Regions from separate parts of the Homo sapiens genome. Here region 2 is linked to region 1. The links are contacts of gene promoters, found by promoter capture Hi-C in blood cells and fetal thymus (Javierre and others, 2016). All regions are on one chromosome and are shown on one strand. The core of a region is centred on a gene start or on the middle of the fragment in contact, and the rest is flanking DNA. Distances in the headings are between cores, read along the strand shown. Region 1 holds the start of ACSL3-AS1 (ACSL3 antisense RNA 1). Region 2 has its middle 31 kb from the start of ACSL3.

What was found. The method cuts DNA at HindIII sites, captures the fragments that hold promoters and counts their contacts. A CHiCAGO score of 5 or more calls a contact.
Region 2: a fragment that was not itself captured here is called in contact with the fragment with the promoter of ACSL3-AS1 in region 1 in 1 of 17 cell types (neutrophils); the score reaches 5.5 in neutrophils.

What each region holds. Positions count from the first base shown.
Region 1 is chr2:222,917,837-222,921,909 of GRCh38, reverse strand. It overlaps ACSL3-AS1 (ACSL3 antisense RNA 1), which reads left to right and starts at 2,309. Exons shown (of 3, transcript XR_923949.3): 1 at 2,309-2,371; 2 at 2,551-2,680. ACSL3 (acyl-CoA synthetase long chain family member 3) reads right to left here. Exons shown (of 17, transcript NM_004457.5): 6 at 3,755-3,864; 7 at 2,708-2,846; 8 at 480-630. The HindIII fragment of the contact is 9,982 bases long and covers 1-4,073 here.
Region 2 is chr2:222,828,061-222,832,081 of GRCh38, reverse strand. No RefSeq gene overlaps it. Among named protein-coding and RNA genes, the nearest start is that of ACSL3, 31 kb to the left of the region's middle. The HindIII fragment of the contact is 3,418 bases long and covers 1-3,009 here.

The DNA.
Region 1 (4,073 bases), core at 1,060-3,559:
AATGTTTCCTTGACAGTCCCTCAAACTTCCATCTGGTTTCCTCCATCAGTCTCTTCCCCACTCCACTCTACCTTCCACTGCTACCACTGGAGTTTGTATTAACAAGAAAAATCAGAGACCAAATACTGAAGCTCAACAAATACTTAGTGGATAAATTAAGTTACCTGTTCACCTGAATTGTATTTAGATATAAAAAAAACTACAGCAGCAAATACAAGCTGATTAAAACAAAGGATTTACAACTATACAAATTTAAGTTCTGTACTTTTTAAAATATATCTATATGATATATTTTCAACCTCACAACTATAACTATTTTGCCATTAATTTTAATGTCCTTTTTTATTTTTTAAGGAAATGCCTACTACAAACAGACTCTGAGGGACTAATTTAGCCATATATTAATAAAATGACACAAATGCTAACATTATAACAGACATAAATACTTAACTACTCAATGTTACTTTACTATGACATACCCTAGTTCTGGAATCCTTTCTGCCATCCCAGTTATACCAGCAATAATGTTACTATGTGAGATCATGACTCCCTTTGGAAGTCCTGTGGATCCACTTGTGTACATGATTACTGCAATATCTGAGGGCAATGGTTTGCTATGAGGTTGGTTTTCTGCATTGAAGAGAAAAAACACACACATACACTTTCATGAGATTCAGCTGTATCAACAATTTCTTTTCATTATCATCAAATAAATAACTCAATCAAATTGAGTTAATTTAACTCAATTCAACAAATATTAGTTATACTGAGATCAACAAAACAGATCAAGTCCCTGCACGTATGGGAGATATATTCTATTGAGATATACAAACAGATTAACCTATGAAGAAAACTGAAGCAAGACAAGGTGAGAAGATGACAATAGATGCTATTTGGATGGAAAAGCCTGGAGACCGTCTCTGTAGAGTTTCGTTTAGCAAAGGCCTGAATAAAGTGAGGAAGGGAGCCATGGAAACCCTGGAACTGGGAGAAGAGTGTTCTAATTAGAAGGAAATAAGCAAATGCAAAGACCCAAAGGTAGGAATGTGCTCAGCATATCTAAAGACCAGCAAGGAGTGTGGCTGGAACAGAGTGAGCAAGAGGAAGAGTGGCAAGAAACAATAGTCAAGTGGCTATCAGGGACCACACATAGGACCTCAAAGGCCACGGGAAGAACTCTGGATTACGTTCTGGATGTAAAGCAATGTTGTTTTGAACAGGAGTATGTTATTATCTGTGAAAAAAAAGATCACTTTGGCTGCTGTGTGGCTAACTAACTTTACAAGGGGAAAAAAGGTATCAGGGAGACAAGATTATCCCAGTAATTCAACTAAGAAATAAAGGTAGCTTTGGACTAGAGTATCTAGGTGTTTGCTAAAAACTATTCACTGCTTCAGAATGGTGACTAACTTGGTTACACTCAGAGTCCTGCATTAAAACACGATGTGAACCATTTGAAATCAGAAGAGTACCAGCCTAAGGACAACAGCTGAGAAGCTATAGAGGTGGCACAGCAGAAGAACAAAGAGAAATAGGTCATGGTTGGCATTGCTGATATGTCTGAACCACTCCCAGAACTACTCTACATGTGAACTTCTAAATGAGTGTGAAAAAATTATTTAAATGTACTCCCAATAGAATACCCTTCCTCTCCTGTCAGTCAAGATACATTTCTTAAATAATGTTTACACTTGGAAGTCTTTACTTCCAAATCAGCCCTTCACTCCTTCAATGCACAGCACCCTTCTCCAACACCACCACTTCTTGGAAATTACAATCCTTGTGTCATCTGACCTCTGCATGCAGCCCCTGATCCTGCTGATGACTCACCAAGATCTCCTTTCCCTTGGCTTCCAGGAACCACATACTACTAGATATTTTCTTCTTTCCTCTCTGACTAGTCCTTAGTAGCCTCTGAAGCCACCATTCCCTGTTGGTGACCTCACCCCCTACTCCCACAGCTATAATTAAAACCTAACTGCTTCTAGCTTCCAAATCTCTAAGTCCAAACATAACTCGAGTACTAGACTTTTACACACCACTGTCCACAATATATCTGCATCTAAATATCCCACTACCACTCAAATTCCAGGTGCCTAAAATTTGAGTTGAGTGAATGCTTACATCTAATTACTAGGTTTCCAACTACAGAGGAAATGCAGTCCCAGCATCCCAGCAGCTTTTGCAGTATCTCTAAACACTAGTACACTAGCTAACATTTTCTGACGCTTTTTTGAGAATAGGAACTTGTAGAGTCACCATGCCTAGGTGTGCTAGTTGGAGGGTAAGGTTTTCACCTCAGGAAAGGGAAGAACTGGAACAGGGAGTAAAAGGAGGCCTCCAGGTTTAGCCACTCTGTTAACACTTACAGGTAATTCACATAGGACAAGATAAATGTCATTATTTATAAACTAACTTTAAACCACCCAAAACTATCACCATAAAAAAGAAATGAAAACTGAATGTAAAATATTTTAAATTTCAAATAAATACTACCTTTAAAACATTAATAATTAATGTTTATATTTTTCCTTAAAACTTTCTTTAAAGACAAGATGAAAGTATACCTAGAGGGACCTGTTTTCCTAACTGATGTTAGAAAACTGATGTGTCATTTGAGCTAACCTCAGAATCAAAACTTTGGCATAATTCTGGAGAATGTGGTCACCAGAAAGCACAGGTAAGGAATTAGAAAAGTGTAACATACCCATGCTGGCCTTGGCTCCCAGGGCCTCCACTGCAGCCATGGTATGCACAATGATGCCCTTGGGGAACTCGGACCAGGTCGGTGGCTTTCCATCAACAGTGATGATGTGCCGCAGGCGTGGGACCAAAGAAACTATATCCTAGAAATACACCAACATTCATCACGTTCATTATTTTTCAAGCAGCTTAGCGAATAAGAATACTAGTTTACCATATTCGGTGAATCATTAAGTAATTTCTTGCCTCAAAAAAGAAAGAAGAAAGGGTACACTGGCATAATATCACTTTTTACAGATGATTAAGTATTGGTCTGAATTTAAATTATTATTTTATAGCATTAGATTCACTGTGTGTACCCTTGGCCTTTGGTAAAACCCTGATCAAGAAGGGTACTGCCTTATAAAACGGGCATGTAAACACAGGTTGCCTAAACTGTAGAGAAACCAGAAGCCCCTCATATTTTCAAGAGACTACATAAAAATATATGGGGGAAGGAGGAGAAAATTCACATGCAAACTTGTTCAAAATTTTCTTTTTGAACAAGTTTACATGTGAATTTTCTCCTCCTTCCCCCATATAGAATAGCCCAGATATTTCTGGGAGTTGTCTAGAGACCAAAGAAACTCTTTTTACTGTAATATAATTAAAAGTCTCCCTTTTTAACTTCCAAACAATTCTGAAAACTTGTAATTACTTAATGCTTCAGAAGTAAAATAAAAATTACTAGTTTAAAATATAACCCTTCAAAATTACAAATTTACTAAAAGTAAACTAGAAAATAGATGAGCACAATAAGAGAAAAAGTAGTCGTAATTTCTTCAATTTAAACATAGGCATCTTAACAATTTATAACTCTGGATTACTTATACATGAATATATACAAAATCTACTTTTTATTTTCTAAAGGAAAAAATAAAGTATGATATTCATAAAAGTCCACAAAGATTAAGGACTTAAAAGTCATAAAAGAACTAAGTATCAATAATAGGGCTCATGACACTGAAAATTCTAAAGTATCAGACAGTTAGAAAGTAACTAGAGTCCTCACCTTCAACTTTGTTTGTAAGAGTTCTTTACTAGTAATGATGTTGGTCACCTCTGTTTCATTTAATGCATGAACAATGGCTGGACCTCCTAGAGTGGCATATAATGTAACAACTAAAAGGAAAAGCAGCAGCCAGTCAAATATTCAAACATTTAACTACAAATGTAAAGTCTCTGAATGTGGAGATGAATCATAATAACGCATTAGGAGCCCTAAACTGTTAAATCCACAGTCTATAAGTGTTATGTTTTTTAAAGTTATCTTATCATACTAATCAACATTACACCTACTCATCCTCCCCTAAATGCCCCAAGATTTCCAA
Region 2 (4,021 bases), core at 51-2,550, 89 kb after region 1:
CCCAGCACTTTGGGAGGCCAAAGCAGGTGGATCACCTGAGGTCAGGAGTTTGAGACCAGCCTGGCCAACATGGAGAAACCCCATCTCTACTAAAAATACAAAATTGGCCAGGTGTGGTGGCGCGTGCCTGTAATCCCAGCTACTTGGGAGGCTGAGGCAGGAGAATATCTTGAACCCGAGATGTGGAGGTTGCAGTGAGCTGAGATCATACCATTGCACTCCAGCCTGGGCAACAAGAACAAAACTCTGTCTCAAAAAAAAAAAAAAAAAAAGAAAAAAGGACTATCTGGTACCAGAATTTTTACAAGTTTTTCTGTTTGTTTTTTGAGACGATGCTAGATCTCTGATTTTTAACCTGAAGATCTCTAGGCAGAGATTAGGGTGAGGATTTAGTGATTGGTAGAGACTTAGGAGTGGAAGAGTGTAGACTTCCAGGTGCCACGCTTCCCAGATTCCTACTCCCTCCTTCGGGGATGAAGGATTTATTTCCTCAGCTGCTGGGAATGTTGGAAGCCAACAGCTCTCAGCTGTCAGCCCTCTTTAGGAATTACCTGGACTGAGTCAACCCGCCACACCCAAGGTCACCATCTCTTTCCAGAGCAGCCTGCATCCAACGACTGGTCTGTCAGGAGCTCATCAAGGCCGAGCATTGGGACAACTCTGAAGAGCCATCCAGCTTCAGGGCTCTCTGTGAAATGGGGCCTTTTGCACCTGTGTGGCAGCCCATCTGATATGGTTTGGGATCTGTGTTTTTAACATGCTATACGGGGTTGTAGCCTAGCAGCAATAGGTTACACCATATATCCTGTGCACAGGTGCACAGTAGGCTATAACACTAAGGTCTGTGTAAGTACATGCTATGATGTTTGCACAACTATAAAATCACCTAATGATGCCTTTCTCAGAGCTTATCCCTACCATTAAATGATGCATGATTATCTCTCTGTGTGTGTGTGTGTGTGTGTGTGTGTGTGTGTGTGTGTGTGTGTGTATCTACAAAAACCCTAAAAGGTACCCAATGGCAATAACCCAAACTAAAGAATGAAGAGGAAGAGTGGTCTAGGGAAAACTTAAGGGTTAGGATCTAAAAGAAAAAGCCATGGCCAGACGTGGTGGCTCATGCCTATAATCCCAGCACTTCGGGAGATCGAGGCAGGTGGATCACCTGAGGTCAGGAGTTCGAGACCAGCCTGGCCAGCATGGCGAAACCTCGTCTCTACTGAAAATGCAAAAATTAGTTAGACATGGTGGCGAGTGCCTGTAATCCCAGCTACTCAGGAGGCTAAGGTGGGAGGATCACTCAAACCTGCGAGGTGGAGGTTGCAGTGAGCAAAGATCTCCAGCCTGGGTGACAGGGCAAGACTCCACCTCAAAAAAAAAGAAAAAGAAAAAGCCTATTGTCTAAAATGGGGAAAGGATAGCAGTAAGTGCCAGAAAATACTCTTTAACAGTTTGAAGTCAGGATAAGCCAACAGAGGAACTTGACACTGTATTCATAACTCAGCTCAAGTAAGATCTTGACGTTTGCTCACAGTTATAAGAGACTGTTTTAAACTTGAACTAGTTGCTTGATTCTAGTGAACAGCGCAAATTAAGAATGAAGCTGGATAATAAGCCCAGGCTGTGAGAAAAGGCGAGGATTCACAGGCATGGTTTTGAGGAAGAAGGGGCTTTATTTTTACCCTAGGTGATGACAGCTAGACCTAAACAAGGGCAATGACAAGGAGGAAGACTGCTGTGTGTGCTGAGATAGGCTGGGATGGGAGTGTCTATCTCAAGGGAGCAGTCTGCTCCACCTGGATAGATTCTTTTTTTCTTTTCTTTTTTATTAATTTCCAAATAGGTACATATCCCATCTTCTTTTGCCATTGACTTAGTTTGGGTCTCTGCAAAAGCAGAGCCAGGATTTGAGTGCAGATAATTTATTTATTTATTTATTTTTTAAGACAGGGTCTCATTCTGTTGCCCAGGCTGGAGTGCAGAGGTGCGATCTTGGCTCGCTGCAGCCTCGACCTCCCCAGGGTCAGATGATCTTCCCACCTCAGCCTCCCGAGCAGCTGGGACTACAGGCGCATGCACCATGCCCAGCTAATGTTTGTACTTTTTTGTAGAGATGGGGTTTTGCCATGTTGCCCAGACTGGTCTTGAACTCCTGGGGTCAAGCCATCCAGCAGCCTTGGCCTCTCAATTGCAGGTATAGTTTAATCGGTGGTGATCCCAGGTAGCAGGAGTGAGAGAGAAGTCAGAGATAAGAAAGGAGGAAGCCTGGGTGCGGTGGCTCACACCTGTAATCCCAGCACTTCGGGAGGCCAAGGCGGGCGGATCACCTGAGGTCAGAAGGAGTTCGAGACCAGCCTGGCCAACATGGTGAAACCCCATCTCTACTAAAAATACACAATTAGCTGGGCGTGGTGACACACGCCTGCAGTCCCAGCTACTCGGGAGGCTGAGAAAGGAGAATCACTTGAACCCGGGAAGGGGAGGCTGCAGTGAGCTGAGATCACGCAACTACACTCCATCCTGGGCAAGACAGAGCAAGATTCCATCTCAAAAAAACAAAAAAACAAAACAAACAAACAAACAAACAAACCACTTCCTTTTTCCTCTGTGGAGTTCTGAAGCAACTGAGACATAAGACACAGGGAGTTGACAGATGGAGGGAAAGTGGCAGTTGATGGGAGAACATGAATTTACACCTGTAGCCAAAGGCAGGGCTGGCTAACATTCCAGCCCATCTCACGCAGTGTGAACTGTAGGACAGAGCACCTTGGCAGGTGCACCTATCTGGAATCACTGCCTTGCACTGGTCTGGTAGAGAGGAAAGAGAATGAATCTCTGATGAATGCAGCCTTGCAGCTTTTAAGTAAATTAATTTTACACAATCAAGGAACATGCACCACTAGGTGTGGAATCCTCACTATCACCATTAAGTAACTCACTTCTAAGATAAATGCATTATTCTAATGGAAGTTCCTCCAGGTGGAACAATGGGAAAAGGCAAAAGAAGCTTTCCCCAAAATTGTGAAAACAAAATGAAACAGCAGAAGGAATGCACACTAAAGTTCCTCCGGCAGTTTTTACTGTTGTTAATATTCCATTTGACATTCAACTACATTTGTACAGTTCGCTTTGACAATTAAGAGCAGCGTTGTTTCTGTAAGACCTGTAATCCAACTAGACTCTAAGTTCAGGAAGGGTCTGTGTCTTAGTTTCTTTTTAGGGATTCAGAAAAGAACAAGTTGGGAGTTAGAAATACTGAATTCGGATGGGTGCGGTCACTCACCCCTGTAATCCCAGCACTTCGGGAGGCCAAGGTGGATGAATCACTCGAGCCCAGAGGTTTAAGACCAGCCTGGGCAACATGGTAAAACCCCGTCTCTACGAAAAATACAAAAAATATTAGCCAGGCGTGGTGGCCTGTGCCTGTGGTTCCTGCTACTCGGGAGGCTGAGGTTGGAGCTTGAGCTTGAGCCTGCGAGGTAGAAGTTGTAGTGAGCTAAGATTGTGCCTCTGAACTTCAGCCTGGGTGGCAGAGTGAGACCCTGTCTCAAAAAAAAAAGAAAACCTAAATTCTACTACTAGTTCCCAGTAAAAATGTAGTTCTATTAGCATAGTCTTCTAGATCCATTCAAATCTTGTTTTTTTTTTTTTTTTTTTTTTTGAGATGTAGTCTCGCTCTGTCACCCAGGCTGGAGTGCAGCGGCACAATCTCGGCTCACTGCAAACTCCGCCTCCCAGGTTCAAGGGATTCTCCTGTCTCAGCCTCTCAAGTAGTCCTACAGGGGCACGCCACCATGCCCGGCTAATTTTTTTGTACTTTTGGTAGAGATGGGGTTTCACTATATAGGTCAGGCTGGTCTTGAACTTCTGCCTCAGCCTCCCAAAGTGCTGGGATTACAGGCATGAGCCACCGTGCCCAGCCCCATTCCAAATCTAAGTCTTAGTTTCAGAATTACTTACTAAATTGAATTTAATAGACACTGTTAGGATAGCTGGGTTTCATTGTGACCTAATAATGAAA